Regions from separate parts of the Homo sapiens genome. Here all the other regions are linked to region 1. Evidence: promoter capture Hi-C in 16 types of primary human blood cells and fetal thymus (Javierre and others, 2016). All regions are on one chromosome and are shown on one strand. The core of a region is centred on a gene start or on the middle of the fragment in contact, and the rest is flanking DNA. Distances in the headings are between cores, read along the strand shown. Region 1 holds the start of OR9A2 (olfactory receptor family 9 subfamily A member 2). Region 2 holds the start of PIP (prolactin induced protein). Region 3 has its middle 16 kb from the start of PIP. Region 4 has its middle 23 kb from the start of PIP.

What was found. The method cuts DNA at HindIII sites, captures the fragments that hold promoters and counts their contacts. A CHiCAGO score of 5 or more calls a contact.
Region 2: the fragment with the promoter of PIP here is called in contact with the fragment with the promoter of OR9A2 in region 1 in 15 of 17 cell types (total B cells, M2 macrophages, naive B cells and 12 more); the score reaches 18.0 in total B cells.
Region 3: a fragment that was not itself captured here is called in contact with the fragment with the promoter of OR9A2 in region 1 in 1 of 17 cell types (total B cells); the score reaches 5.1 in total B cells.
Region 4: a fragment that was not itself captured here is called in contact with the fragment with the promoter of OR9A2 in region 1 in 2 of 17 cell types (naive B cells and total B cells); the score reaches 5.2 in naive B cells.

Annotation. Positions count from the first base shown.
Region 1 is chr7:143,025,480-143,029,240 of GRCh38, forward strand. OR9A2 (olfactory receptor family 9 subfamily A member 2) reads right to left here and starts at 1,653. Exons shown (of 1, transcript NM_001001658.1): 1 at 721-1,653. The coding sequence starts at 1,653. The coding sequence ends at 721. The HindIII fragment of the contact is 3,416 bases long and covers 35-3,450 here.
Region 2 is chr7:143,129,218-143,133,555 of GRCh38, forward strand. PIP (prolactin induced protein) reads left to right here and starts at 2,860. Exons shown (of 4, transcript NM_002652.3): 1 at 2,860-2,994. The coding sequence starts at 2,900. The HindIII fragment of the contact is 4,172 bases long and covers 644-4,338 here.
Region 3 is chr7:143,145,728-143,149,885 of GRCh38, forward strand. No RefSeq gene overlaps it. Among named protein-coding and RNA genes, the nearest start is that of PIP, 16 kb to the left of the region's middle. The HindIII fragment of the contact is 3,696 bases long and covers 990-4,158 here.
Region 4 is chr7:143,107,058-143,111,103 of GRCh38, forward strand. No RefSeq gene overlaps it. Among named protein-coding and RNA genes, the nearest start is that of PIP, 23 kb to the right of the region's middle. The HindIII fragment of the contact is 8,838 bases long and covers 1-4,046 here.

The DNA.
Region 1 (3,761 bases), core at 403-2,902:
ACCACAAAGAAGGGCAGTGAAAGGAATATGCTGAAGCTTAACAAAAATAAATTTTCCTCCATTTTTATCCTCAAATATTTTTATCTTCTTTACACCACAAATATCTCCTGAATGAGAAGCATTCCAATCCTCATATCGCCATTCTAGACTGGTTCTGTGACAAAACGTAAACAGTGTTACACTTCCTTTCCAGTATCAATGGGGCAGAGAGAAAGAGCTTTAGGATATCTAAAATGCATATGGCCATCTTGCCAAAAAATTGCACAAAAATATAGGGAAGAACTTAGCAACAGGTGATGAAGGACCAAAGTGAGCATCTCTACCTTTCTACTCTGATTAGGACACCTTTCTCAGTACACCTCCCTCCACACTTCCTCCCTTCCCCAGAAAATACATTTTCAGAGATGGACTATGAGGAAATGAGTTGGGCTAATAGAATTCTTACAAAAATGTCTGCATTTCCTTTCTCTAGTCCCCCCCAAATCACAAGAATATGTTCAACAGTGGAAACAGGCAGGAACTAAGGCTATGAGAGTCTCCTGGACAGACAATGGATTTCATTATTACCAGCCTAATCTACTTCCATGGTGTGATGGCGAATTGTACACACTCTTTGACTTTTGTAATGAGAGGATAAGAGAAAAGAGGAGTTAGAATTTTCTAGGTGACTTAATAATTAACCCTGAGGCTTGGACCACCTAAAACTGACTTACAGAACAGCTAATCTTTCAGGAGTTGACAGCAGCGTTTCATCCCATCTCGGAGGGCCTCTTTGACTTTGTCATTCCGAAGAGTAAAGATGAAAGGATTCAGGAAGGGGGTTAACACAGAAACCAACAGGGAAACTATCTTATTGTACTCAACTCCCTGTGTTTGCTTGGGTTTCACGTAGAGAAACAAGCAGCTGCCATAGCCAATCACAACACAGGTGAAGTGGGAGGCAAAAGTGGAGAAGGCTTTCCTCCGGCCAGAGGCTGACGGGATCTTGAGGATGGTGGAGATAATGTAGGTGTAGGAGACAATCGTAGGGATCAAAGAACCAATGAGAATAAAAACAGCCATTAAGAAAAGGATAAACTCTGTGAGAAGAGTGTTATCGCAGGACAGTTTGAGCAATTGCCCTCGGTCACAGTAAAAATGGTCTAATGAATTTGATTTGCGGAAGGTAAACTGAAATGTGGCATAGATGGGCCAGATTTCAGAAAGAAATCCAAACACCCATGACACTATTACCACCCAAATACAGGTACTGCTGTTCATAATGATGTTGTACCTCAAAGGGTTACACACAGCCACATAACGGTCCACAGCCATCACTCCAAGTAATGCAAACTCCATGGTCCCACAGGAAAAGTTGAGCGATACATGTAGAGAAAGATACTGTCTGCATCCCAGGAAGAGCAATCCCCAAAGCATCATGGGGACAATTATGGTTGTGACCAGGATCTCCAGGGTAGAGAGGTGGCTGAGGAAGAAATACATGGGGGACTGCAGACGTTTATCCACACAGACAATCACAATGATGACCGTGTTTCCCATTAATGTCACTAAATAGAAGAAAAAGAATATAGCAAAAAGAATGTGGTGTAGTCCTTGGGACCCAGGGAAGCCTAGAAGGTGGAATTCAGTGGCACTAGAGTGGTTGTCCATCATTTAGTCCTTGATTCTGCTTGTTTTGAAGCCCAGAGATTAAAAGAGAGGTGGCATTGCTCCACATGGTCCTGCTCTCAAGAGAGAAGGAAGAAAAATTAGGTTAAGAAACTATTTCCAACCTGAGAATCAGGTGACATGTCCCTGCTACTGTGGTCGGCACATACATAGCTTGAGGTACATGTTGTCATCCCAAGTCTACAAGTGAGGCTCTCACTTCCCTGTGTAACCAGCCCCCTAGAATGGGTGAAGACATCTTCTTCTACTGGTGGTGAAATACCTTCCTTGCCTTTTTCCCCATTAAATATACCTTCTCTCGGGGGCAGAGGCTAAGACCTTTTAAATAGGCCAGTTTTAAAGGTGAGTCAATCAGGTCCCTCCGGTCCTGGAGTTACTTTCTCTTAGGTTAACTGTGCAAGATGACACAAAGGCATTTTATATGATGTTCAAAGGACAGAATTTTAAACCCCAGCTCTCATCTGTAATGGTAATGCATAGACCCACCTTTGGGGCCAGCAGAAAGGAGGCAGAGGATGTAAGACTAACATCTCTGCTGTTCCAGATTTTAAAATCTCCATTTTACAGAACAGCAAGATCTCTAAATGAGAACTCTAGAGCTTGGGATAATTTCCCAGAACAGATCCATTCTTCTCTAATTCCATTTTCCTTCCAAAGTTGTGGGAGGAAGGAAAGATGGCACCTGGCACAGAAAAGGAATAGATCTGGGACCGCCAGCTGTTAAGGATGCCTGGCTCTCTGCCTGTCGCTTCATTCCATTATTCAAATGTCACCCTTTCCAAAGACTCTTTCCAATCACTCTGCCCAAAACAGAAAAGACACACTTATTATTGGACTTCCATTTTTTTAATAACAGTTGTTATTACCTTGTATTATGTCTAATTATTTACTTCATTCCTTTATTTAACAATAAACAAATGTAGTCATGAACAGAACAAAGAAAATTCCATGCCCTGTGGAGCTTATATTCAAGGAAGAGGTGGGGGCTAGACCACACACAAGACACCTAAGTAAAATATGCAATAGTTTAGTTTGCTTATCATGTCACAGGGAAAAAAATAAGCAAGAAAGAAGGAGAGGAAATTTAAGTGTATTTATTATTTATCAACGGCATTAGAATATAAACTCCATGAGGGCTAGGACATGTCTTCACTGTTGTATTCTGAGGCTGGCACATAAAATGTACATACATAAATTAAGTAGTTATATATTTTATATATATATATCATATATCTTTTATATAGATATAGACAGATACATTATGTGAAATGAATATATCATAGATATATCTTATATATTAAATTATGTATTAATTTATCACAAGGTAACCGAACTAATAGCTGTGTGAGTCAAGATTTGAACCTAGGTCTGTCAGATTTCATCACTCACACAGCTAACTACCACACCTTATATTATATTATTATCTTATATTATTTATCTTATTTATATAAGATATATGAAATAAGATATATGAAATATATCTTATATTATATAAAATATACATATATTTTTTATTTATAAGATATTTAAATACATAAGATATATGTATCATATACATAAAATAAGTAGTGCTGACAAATTTTGCTAGATGAGGTATGGATGGATGGATGGATAATATATGATTAAATAATACTTGTTCTGGCCAGGGCCTGGGCCACATTCCCTCAATCCTATTCTGGTTGGTTTTCCTTCCTGCCTCACATTACCATTTTCCCTCCTGCCCTTCCCTTGCTTAGGTAACCCCTTCCCTGTCTACGTCACTGTTTTACTAATGGTTTAAAAAGCTTCAGGGACAGAATTGATGGGAAAGCTCAGTGTTCTGGTTTTCCACAACCTCTGCATAACCAGCACGAGATGAAGAAACATGAGCGAGAAGGACACCGACTGTCAGGGAGCCGTGACTGTGTTAGCATTGGGTCCAAGAGGAGCCGGAAGTGCTCTCTGCTATGCAGGAAGGGTCTGGAGATGAGCCTATACACTCTACTGCTCCCCTAGCCCACACTTCAATATCTGGGTGACTTTGTTCTAGAAGATAGGCAGGCCCAGGATGTCCCATCCTAAAATGCTTTTACCCTCTTCTTCATAGAGGAGAC
Region 2 (4,338 bases), core at 1,610-4,109, 100 kb after region 1:
TGTATTCGCCATTAAGTTAATGGCATGAAGCCTCAGGGCTTCCTACTTATGGGTGCCTCCTCCAAGATCCTGTACCTGTAGTTTACATTTGTAAGTTTGGATTCTATTTCAAAAAGAGGTTCTCAGATACTGTAAATCAAAACTCAGATTCCACAAAACCTGCTTGCAAAGTTGACTCTGCCATATACTGGCTATATGGTCTGGGTTAGATATTTATCTCCTGGGTCTCTGTTTCTCCTCTTGTAAAATGGAATAAAAATGGCAACCACCTTCACAGGGTTGTAATAAAGATTGAGCTAATATATGTTAAAATGTTTAGAGCAGTGTAATGCACACAGCATATGCTTCATGTGTGTTGGTGTCTATAACTCCCTCTCTGTCCACTCCTTATCTTCTTCTCATGAGCCCTGTCAGGACTAAGATTATCTTTCTCTTTGTAAACTTAGCCTGTGGCAAGCCTCACCTATATTCTAACTCTTTCCCTATGGGACTATACACATTCTCTTCTGTAAGCTTCCTGAGTTGTTTACAATCTGATTTTATCAACCTTTATCTGATTTCTTAAACCTAGACTTGTTCATTCTTTATGGCATAATAATTATGGTTTCTTTTTCTCCCTAATCTTCTTCCTCAAGGGACCTCAAGCTTTTCTCTTAAGACTTTCAACTGATCCAATGAGTCTGACCCATATTATGGAGGTAATCTGTTTTACTCAAATTTTACTGATTTAAATGTTAATCACATTTAAAACAAACAAACAAACAACAACTTCACAGCAACTTCTAAACTGTTGTTTTTCCAAAAAGTGGGCACCATGCCTAGCTAAGCTAACAAATAAAAGTAACCATCACAGCAGTCATGGCCTGAATAAGACTTGTCCTAGGCCAGGCACAGTGGCTCACACCTGTAATCCCAGCAATTTGGGAGGCCGAGGCAGGTGGATCACTTGAGGTCAGGAATGTAAGATCAGCTTGGCCAACATGGTGAAACCCCATCTCTACCAAAAATACAAAAATTAGCCGGGTATGGTGGCACCTGCCTATAATCCCCACTACTCGGGTGGCTGAGGCATGAGAATTTCCTGAACCCGGGAGGTGGAGGCTGCAGTGAGCTGAGATCATGCCACTGCACTCCAGCCTGGATGAGTGAGATTCTGTCTCAAAAAAAAAAGATTGTCCTGTACATTGTAGGTATTGCAGTTTCCTGCTAGCTCACAGAAGAACAGCCTCATTACCTTCAATAGATGCTCTTAACCCATCGTCATCTGCCTTCCTCTGGACACTGCCTTTTGGGAGTGCTGGAGTTGCATCCTCAAGGACAGGGCTATGCCTTCAAAGAGCCAAGCAAAGAACTTTTCCTGCATTTTCCCACACAGACACTTCCTAGATTCTTCTGCCTTATGCCTGCCTTGGTCAGTGTAGCTAGGATGTGCTTCAAATGGAAATTATGCAAGTGAGAAGGACCAGGTGTAAAGACAATTTAATTGTGGGAAAAGGCTTACAAAGGAAGGTCATTGTGACCCTCACAAGCAGTGTTCTTGAGTGGATAGGACATAAACAGGGAAGAAAGCATGTGATCATGAGAACAGCTGAAGTTCTGAGTGAGCAATGACATGAATGGTGTCCAATTCAAAGAAAAGAGAAGGTAGATCCAGGAGCTGAATAAACAGACAGAGCAATTTTGAGAGATACATCCAGAAAGCAGAAGCACACACTTACACTTTAGCTCTGAATCCTGGCTAAAGCAACATACAGAGGCGGTAACTCCTAGAACTCTGATTTTCACTCTGTTGCCAGAGAGGCTCTTCCTGGGCAGCTGTGTGCCATGCAAATGATAGAAACAAATCCCATAGTATTGTAAGTCATAGGTTAAGGAGCAGATTTAATTTCATAAGGAGAAATAACACAATGCCAGTGTCAGCAAGAGCAAGTCTCCCCATCATCCCAAGGAGAGGAATTCTACAACCTGGGTATCTACTGGACATAATGTGGGCTCCATTCTCACAGAAGGAATCCTTTCCACTGTGGTTCTTCCTGTGTGGCTTACGCATGAGACAAGTGTAAGAAAGTGGCCATGTCAATAAGAAAATAAGCCAGCTCTTTGGTGCCAAGAAGTCTGATTTGGGGGTGCCAGCTATTTATAGGAATTGTCTAGAATTAAAATATCACCCTGCCTTGGGGATTGTGGGGCAGCTGGGGATCTTGGACATCTGCAGTATATTGCAACCACACCTGAAATTAAGAAGGACTCAATGACAATAAACATCTTTACATCACCCAGTGTCTTGAACTCACTTCCCCATCATGTAGAGCAGCTCAGGTCTTCTCTAGCTCTTCCACCTCATGATGGGTAGTGACTGCTAGGGAAGTCCTGATCATCCTAGCCCTCCAAGAAATGTTTTGAATAGCATTGCATCTTGAACTCACTATAATTTGATCAAGCAAAGATGTTCTATGTCTCTGGTCTGAAACCTGCCACCACAGCTGTGTTCTCTGCTTTCAGAGACCAGGGGAGCAGTGACTGAAGCTAAGACTACACATAGCACTTCAGACAGGCAAATTAGGAGGGAAAAGAAAACTGAATCTGTAAACTCGGGAAAAACTGGTGTATCTTTTGAGGTCCCAGCCATTTTGAGAAACTCTGATGCTGAAAAAATAAGGAAGAACAATCTGACTCCTCTCTCAAACGCTGACATTCTAGCTGAGTGTTGATTTTTTCTTAGAAAAACAAACTTTGGGTCAACAAGGAAAGATCACGAGTGGGGAGGGTGAATGGGTGATTCACCTCATGGATCTCCCTGGCAGCTCTTGCACTTCCTTGATCAATCTGTATATAAGAAATGTGCTGGGCACCTGGGACACCACTTCTCTGGGACACATTGCCTTCTGTTTTCTCCAGCATGCGCTTGCTCCAGCTCCTGTTCAGGGCCAGCCCTGCCACCCTGCTCCTGGTTCTCTGCCTGCAGTTGGGGGCCAACAAAGCTCAGGACAACACGTGAGCCATGCCCTTCTCCTCCCCACAAAAAAAATTGCAGGGAGGGCTCCTCTCCCAGTCTGGAAATTACATATCTCTTTCTGAGAATTTCTTTCAACTTCCCAGAACTCTAGTCCCAGGAGCTCCCATGGATCTCCTGCCAGGTTCCACTTCTTGTCCTCTTAGGAAGCCCCACCAACTCCTCTCACATTTTTGCTGGGTGTTTCTGCATTGCCAGTGGAAATAAAGCTCCAAATGTACCTACAGGCTGTAATTAGTAGTTAGTCTTCATCTAACATGCTGATCCACATCTTGTTCATAATTTATACCTTTGTTCAGATTTCTGCTCAGTAAACTTTACCTTCTCACACCTTGCCTCCTAGAAGAGAAGCATAACAGGTCTGTGAATTCCAATGGCAGCTTAGGGCAGCTTTGGCAGGACTGGCTAAAGGACCAGAGGCCCTGGCCACTGCCCTGTGGTCTGAGATTGAGCTAGACTGGCAGCTTAGACATTCTTCCTAACCTGAAGTCTGAAGATGAATATGATGACCTCTTGCTCTCACGTATACTGGGACCTGAGAGCACAGGTTCAGAAGTCAACTTATTGAGAACACATGTGTGAAGGAAGCAGAAAAATTGGAGCAAGTAAAATAAAGTAGAAAATGGAGCCAAGGGTCTGGGAGAAAGCAGCGATACCCAATCTAGGGAGTTTTCTCTATAGCAGTAGGGTTTATAATGCTGGGTTTCTGGGTTGTGATCTTGGAGGTACTCTCTATGGCATGGTCAGATATCCTGTCCTGGAGGAAACTGTTCAGGGTTTTGACAAGCTAATGTAATGGAGGCAAGTGTCCCAAGAAACCCTGCATGGGGACAGGTTCAGATCCCACCCCATTCCCGCCAGATGACAGTCCACTTAGCCCTGAAGGGCAGCAAGGTATTCAAATAAGCTATGCTAATTAGGTTATCAACCATCCATCCTGATTTGCCCAGAACTTTCCTGGTTGTAGCACTGCAACTCTGCCCTCCCCCGCCACCTCCACAACCCATTCTGGAAAAGACCTCAGTCCTGGGTAAACTGAGATGGTTAGTCACTCGAACTAAGCTGGTCATCCTATCAATCTGAAACTCATATACAAATGGGAGAGATTTTGAAGTTGCTTAGGTATTTATACCCTTTTCCTGTGCACTGGGCACTACAGCAGTTGGCACCAAAAAATAGAATCTCTCTAAGATGCTTTGCCCCAAGAAAATGGGGCTGTGAGACACTGTGGGCTAAGAATCTCAATTCCCTTCTGTCCCACACAATAACAAAGGTCCGTAGCCGGGAGTTTCTAGGGACGAGAAAATAACTCTCCTGGCCCCGAA
Region 3 (4,158 bases), core at 1,588-4,087, 120 kb after region 1:
AATAAATACACATGGCTTTAAAAAGATTGAAGGCACTCTGATGTACTAAATTGAAATTTCTTCAATCACAGTGTCAAATGAAACTAGTGAGTCATAGAACATTATATGATAAATTTTGTGATGGAAATTAAAGAACATAATAGTATTTATTGTATAACTGTACACTGATGTAAAGAAATACTAGGTCAGGCGTGGTGGCTCACGCCTGTAATCCCAGCACTTTGGGAGGCTGGGGCGAGTGGATCACCAGGTCCAGAGTTTGAGACCAGCCTGGCCAAGATGGTGAAACCCCGTCTCTACTAAAAAAACAAATATTAGCCAGGCATGGTGGCAGGCACAGCAGTGCACTCTAGCCCAGGTGACAGAGCATGACTTTGTCTCAAAAATAATAATAATAATATTTTTGAATAAGTAATAAATGAATGGAAGGAAGGGAGGGAGGAAAGGAGAAGAGAAATTAGTTTAATGAGTTTGAAAAACATAGGGATAAATAGCAGAGTAATCCAAGTAAGAGAAGACCTGCTGCATAGCACCTGGTATTTGGGAGCTGGCCCTCTCAATGCATGGTGAATCTTGTAGAAAATTCAAAATGAATGGATGGAAGCAGCCCTCCCTGGTCTTGCTGTCACCTTAAGGCATCTCAAGGACCTTGTTAGTTTCAGCACTCTAGTTCTCTGGAAAGACTCTACAGGGGTAAGAGCACAGCTGTCCCAACTCATCCACCCTTGGACTTCACCTCGCCATCTGATATGGTTCTCCCACTTGGATGTTAGGTGGGCAATTCCATGGGTTCTCTAGTCGTCTTAGCTTTCTAAGACGTTCTTAAGACCACATGTTCTCCTGCAGATGACTAGAGATGATCACAGGGTCCTTCAAAGATGGATTCTGACAACTGCCCCAACATCTGAATTTCCAGCAAGAGGAAGCAGGCTGAGCAGTAACCAAAGCTAGAAAAATGGAGACCTGGGACAACAGGACCTTTCCTAAGAAGCTTCAGGATTGCAGCTCCCACACATATAATTTAAACCCAAGCCCCCTTAGAGGGGCCAATACACAGAAAGGTCTTGCTTACTGACAGTATCTTAAGAAATAGATACCAAAAATATCTGGTCTACCCTCTTCTCATCTGATTTTTTCCTATTTCTGAGGCTTGAATTCTCATGAAACATACTCTATACTCTATAGAGGGCTATCATTTCTTACAGAAGACTCATTGTACCTGAAGATGCAAACCAGGAGGGCTGAGTAGGAACATTAGTGTCAAGTCATTCACTCAACTAGAGTAAAATTTAGAGTTGAAGTAACTGGCATTGGTAGAAAGATAAGACACCATGTCATCTAGAGGACAAAAAGATAAGAATATACATTTCATAGATCCTACAGACCCAGAGCAAGTATTGGGAAATAGAAGTGAAAAAGATGCTGTTTAGAAAAGTTAAGGCAGAATCCATCCTGCTGTTCCAGGAACATTCTAATCTGATATTGGCAAACAAGGGAAAACAACTGAACTAATTCTTTCCTCATTCCATTCCAATGTAAAATTCCAGCTGAATGTTGACATTTCTCCAAGAAAAAAATTCATGGTGGTAATTAGGGAAGTTTCAAGGTCTGATGATTTTGGTTGAGTGGCCTGCCCAAATGTCACAATGTTCTCTTGCTGTAGTTATGAAGAATAATTTGGGTGCCTGGGTGCACAGTTCTCTGGGCATCAAATTTCTCCAGCATGCATGCTCTTCAGATTCTGTTCAAGCCCTGTCTTGTTGCCCTGCTCCTGGTTCTCTGCCTGAGGCTGGGGACCAGCATAGCTCAGGAAGAATTGTAAGCCACCACTTTCTCCTTGTTGCAGAAAATCTTCCAACGGGGACACATCTCCCAACCCAGAAATCAATATGGTGCCCCTAGGGATTATTTTACCACTCCAAAGGGGACACATTCTGGGTATTCTCACTAAAGATGTCTCTTAGTCTCACTCTTTTCCTATTCAGATCCTATTGTGGGGGTTACTGCATTCATGTCTTATTACTACTTGTATTTTAATTCATTTTTCTATCCTAAGTTTATCATTGGCATCATTTTCTCCTAAATGAAAAGCATGGGCAGAGATGTGGGCTTAATCAATACCTGTGGGATGAGCTTTGGATAAGATGCCTGAGCTGCAAGAGAGGGGCCATGGCCCTGGTCTTTACTGGGGTTACAAGGTTGTGCTGACCACTAACTCATACAATTGGTCTCATTGGAAACAGTGCTCTCTATCTCATTAAGATCTGTGTCATACACTGGGGCTGGGACCTACAAGACCTGAGCAGGTTTCTCTAAGTAAGGAAAAAGTAGAAACATGCTCCTGGACTCCACCTTTTCCTGGATTTGTTCCTAAATGCAACATGTCCTTGCATAAATGCGACACAGCTGGTCTCCAGGTCTATACTGATTTGCCAAAACGGAGGAAAAGAAATGACAGATTCCAGTTCCTTAAGTGGAAAGGAGAACATTGAAACGGGACTCTGTCCCTTGGCAAGAGCAAAGTACTAAGATCCAGAATGAAGCCAGCAGGTCCTTAGGAGACATGGACGTGTAGCAGACAGAATGTGGAGAAAGGAGTATCTAGCAGATGGAAATGGAGCCATGGAGATTTTGGTGAAGAAGGGGTTCTTGCCAAGCCTGGATGTTTCTCTAAGGAGAAGAGAAGCAAAGAGGATGTGGGGGTGGATATATGGAGTAACACAAAATGTGTGTGTGCTGGGTTTTGGTTGACTAAACTTCTACTTAGTTTCCCCTCTACTTAGTGAGTTGGACAAAGTTGAACTATGTTGATCATTATGTTAAACTTTAATTCATTGGTGTGATATGTTTATCAGACTCATAGAATTTCTTATCCTTCTACTAGTTATACCAGTATAAGAAAATGAACTTTCATGGATTTGGGGATGATTCCATAAGAAAAATCAAAAGGAGAATCTCAGGCTAAAGTAGACCATGCAACCAAATCACTTCCTGCTTCAAACAACATGGTGGAGATTCAACTGAGTATCCATGATGAAGGAAAAGCAGTCCCTCAGTCTGGCTCCCTGCCCTCATCAGTCCACCAGGAATATGACCTCTTTTCCTCTGGCCTCCATTTCCCCTTCCTATCAGATAGGGGCATCTTGGCTGGACACACAGAGCCCACAGGCACAAGTCATGCACAGAGGATCCTTATGAGTGACAGCATTGACTTATGTGCTTCCTCACTCCCTGCACCCCTCTGTTCACTCTGTCCTCCTGCTTCCATTCTCCCTCCTGGGACACCCCTGTCCTACACTTTCCCTGACTTTGGGTTTCTCCTTCTTTTGGCATATACAGACAGAACATAATTTTTCTGAGCATGACAATCCCTGAATCTGTAAAGCCAGAGGAAATATTTTTGCTAACACTCATGGTTACAAATAACAATAGGTATAAATATGTGGAGGTAACTGAAGAATTGGAGGGAAGGTTGGTGGGAAAGAGAAGAGAAATATCACAATAAAGAACATTGGTCGTCATTACTGATTGTATGTGAAACAGTTTAACATCTTGCCAAATGCTTCACCTACACATGATTTTGTGTACATTAGCCTTGAACCTCAGAACAACTCTGTTAGGAATGTACATGTTATCAATTCCATTTTGAAGTTGAAGAAATTGTGTTATGAAAAAGATGAATGAGTGGAGGCTTTTAACCATAGGGTCAGGACTCTAATTCATGAGGGGAGGGTAGCAGTGGGGAGATTAGGAAGAGGAAAAAAAAGAAATGAGAGGAAAGCAATCCAAATGCAGATGAAAAGAAAGATGGACAGAGAAACACAAATCAAAACCACAATGAGATACCATCTTACACCAGTAAGAATGGCTACTACTAAAAAGTCAAAAAATAACAGAAGCTAGTGAAGCTGCAGAGAAAAGGGAATGTTTACACACTTTTCATGGGAATGTAAATTGGTTCAGCCACTTTGAAAAGCAGTTTGAAGATTTCTCAAAGAACTTAAAATTGAGCCACCATTCAACCCAGCAATCCCATTACTGGGTACATACCGAAAGGAAAATAGACCATTACACCAAATGGCCACTTGATATGTTCACCACCATGCTATTCACAATATTAAAGACATGGAATCAACTAAGCGCCCATTGATGGTGGAT
Region 4 (4,046 bases), core at 4-2,503, 81 kb after region 1:
ATTCCTCCAGGACCACCTCCCCCAGGATCTTGCTTCAAGTGCCGGAAATCTGGCCACTGGGCCAAGGAATGCCTGCAGCCCAGGACTCCTCCTAAGCTGTGTCCCATCTGTGCAGGACCCCACTGGAAATCAGACTGTCCAACTCACCCAGCAGCCATTCCCAGAGCCCCTAGAACTCTGGCCCAAGGATCTCTGATTGACTCCTTCCCAGATCTCGGCTTAGTGGCTGAAGACTGATGCTGCCCAATCACCTTGGAAGCCTACAGGACCATCACAGATGCTTTGGGTAACTCTTACAGTGGAGGGTAAGTCTGTCCCCTTCTTAATCAATATGGAGGCTACCCACTCCACATTACCTTCTTTTCAAGGGCATGTTTCCCTTGCCTCCATAACTGTTGTGAGTATTGACAAGAGGCTTTAAACCTTTTAAAACTCCCCAACTCTGGTGCCAACTTGGACAATGTTCTTTTATACAATCCTTTTTAGTTATCCCTACCTGCCCAGCTCCCTTATTAGGTCGAAACATTTTAACTAAATTATCTGCTTCCCTGACTATTCCTAGGCTACAGCCACACCTCATTGCCACCTTTTTCCTCAGTTCAAAGCCTCCTTCACATCCTCCCCTTGTATCTCCCCACCTTAATCCACAAGTATAGGACACCTCTACTCCCTCCTTCGTGACTGATCATGCACACCTTACCATCCCATTAAAACGTAATCACCCTTACCCTGCTCAATGCCAATATCCCATCCCACAGCACACTTTAAAAAGATTAAAGCCTGTTATCACTCTCCTGCTACAGCATGGGCTTCTAAAGCCTATAAACTCTCCTTACAATTCCCCCATTTTACCTATCCAAAAACCAGACAAGTCTTACAGGTTAGTTCAGGATCTGCGCCTTATCAACCAAACTGTCTTGCCTATCCACCCTGTGGTGCCAAATACATATACTCTCCTATCCTCAATACCTCCCTCTACAACCCATTATTCTGTTCTAGATAAACCTAGCTGACCCCATAAATCCTAAATCCTTTCCCCACTCCCCTTTCCATTCCTTAAAAAACAGCCCTAAAAGCTGCTCCCACACTAGCTCTCCTTAATTCATCCCAACCCTTTTCATTACACACAGCCAAAGTACAGGGCTGCGCAGTCAGAATTCTTACACAAGAGCTGGGACTGTGCCCTGTAGCCTTTCTGTCCAAACAACTTGACTTTACTGTTTTAGCCTAGCCCTCATGTCTGCGTGAAGTGGCTGCCGCTGCTTTAATACTTTTAAAGCCCCTCAAAATCACAAGCTATACTCCACTTACTCTCTACAGTTCCCATAACTTTCAAAATCTATTTTCCTCCTCACACTTGACACATATACTTTCTGCCCCCCAGCTCCTTCAGCTATACTCACTCTTGTTGAGTCTCCTACAATTACCATTGTTCCTGGCCCAGAGTTCAATCTGGCCTCCCACATTATCCCAGATGCCACACCTGATCCCCATGACTGTATCTCTCTGATCCACCTGACATTCACTCCATTTCCCCATATTTCCTTCTTTCCTGTTCCTCACACTGATCACACTTGGTTTATTGATGGCAATTCCACCAGGCCTAATCGCCACTCACCAGCAAAGGCAGGGTGTGCTATAGTGTCTTCCACATCTATCACTGAGGTTACTGCTCTGCCCCTCTCCACTACCTCTCAGCAAGTTGAACTCATTGCCTTAACTCAGGCCTTCACTCTTGCAAAGGGACTACGCATCAATGTTTATACTGACTCTAAATATGCCTTCCATATCCTGCACCACCATGCTGTTATATGGGCAGAAGGAAATTTCCTCACTACACAAGTGTCCTCCATCATTAATGCCTCCTTAATAAAAACTCTTCTTAAAGCTGCTTTACTTCCAAGGAAGCTGGAGTCATTCACTGCAAGGGCCATCAAAAAGGCATCAGATCCCATCACTCAGGGCAATGCTTATGCTGATAAGGTAGCTAAAGAAGCAGCTAGTGTTCCAACTTCTGTCCCTCATAGCCAGTTTTTCTCCATCTCATTGGTCATGCCTATTTACTCTCTTACTGAAGTTTCCACCTATCAATCCCTCTCCACTCAAGGCAGATGGTTCTTAGACCAAAAAAAAATCTCCTTCCAGCCTCACAGGCCCATTCTATTCTGTCGTCATTTCATAACCTCTTCCATGTAGGTTACAAGCTGTTAGCCCACCTCTTAAAACCTCTCGTTTCCTTTCCATCATGAAAATTTATCCCCAACCCGCCACTCTTGACTGCCTCTTGGAGTGCACAGACAATCTTTGCTGACAGGACACACTCCAATACTTTCACCCTGATGAAGTCCTATTCTTTACTTTTATACTCACTCTTATTCTCGTTCCTGTTCTTATGCCACCCTCTACCTCTCCCCAGCTATCTCCACCACACTATCAATCTCACTCACTCTCTCCTACCCGTTTCTAATCCTTCTTTAACAAACAATTGCTGGCTTTGCATTTCTCTTTCCTCAAAACTCGCCAAGGCCCTGACTTACTCACTGCTAAAAAAAAAGGGGGACTCTGTATATTTTTAAATGAAGAGTGTTGTTTTTACCTAAATCAGTCTGGCCTGGTAAACAGTATCAAAAAACTCAAGGATAGAGCCCAAAAACTTGCCAACCAAGCAAATAATTAACACTGAACCCCTCTGGACACTCTCTAATTGGATGTCCTGGGTACTCCCAATTCTTAATCCTTTAATACCTACTTTTCTCCTTCTTTTATTCGTGCCTTGTGTCTTCTGTTTAGTTTCTCAATTCATACAAAACTGCATCCAGGCCATCACCAATAATTCTATAGGACAAACGCTCCTTCTAACAACCCCACAATATCACCCCTTACCCCAAAGCCTTTCTTCAGTTTAATCTCTCCTACTGTAGGTTCCCATGCCACCCCTAATCCCGCTGGAAGCAGCCCTGAGAAACATCACCCATTATCTCTCCATACTACCCCCCAAAATTTTCACCACCCCAACACTTCACCACTATTTTGTTTTGTTTTGTTTTTTATTAATATAAGACAGGAATGTCAGGCCTCTGATCCCAAGCTAAGCCGTCATATCCCCTGTGACCTGCACGTATACATCCAGATGGCCTGAAGCAACTGAAGATCCACAAAAGAAGGGAAAATAGCCTTAACTGATGACATTCCACCACTGTGATTTGTTCCTGCCCCACCCTAACTGATAAGATATAGTCTCCCCAACCCTTAAAAAGGTACTTCGTAATATTCTCCCCCACCCTTAAGAATGTACTTTGTACGCCTATCCCAAACCTATAGAACTAATGATAATCCCACCACCCTTTGCTGACTCCTTTTTTGGACTCAGGCCACCTGCACCCAGGTGAAATAAACAGCCTTGTTGCTCACACAAAGCCTGTTGGTGGTCTCTTCACACACATGACACATAGCTTCTTCTGTAACCTCTTAAATATATATGTTTAGCCAACCTGTCATCAAATCCCCAGGAACTCCATGTACAATTGACAGAGAGGAACAAACTAGTTGATTTTTTTTATTAATATGGGGGGTTGTATATTCTGTAGTCAACATCTGCTTATCCGTTGATTCAAAAAAGACTGCAATGTTTACAGGGGTGCCAGGAAAAACCAATGACATGGATAATTTAGAGTACTATTATTTTGTCTACCACACAGAGTATGTCCTCCAAAATCAATGCAAATAATCTAAAATAAATGATAAAAATTTTATGTTTGGAGAATAAAGCATACTCCTAAATAAACATAGATCATTGTAGTCCCACTTGTTTATTTTTGCTTTTGTTGTCTGAGCTTTTATTGTGGTATCTAAAAAATCATTACCAAGGCCAGTATCAAAGAGCTTTTACCCTAAGTTTTCTTCTACTAACTTTGGAATGCCATTGGCTGAGAGGGGGTGTCCATTCAGATGGTTGGGCCATGCTTAGAATTTTATTTTTGGTTTACAATTCCTTCTGAGACTCAAAGAAAGAATCAATTTTCTTGCCATTTCCAGCTAGAACCTAT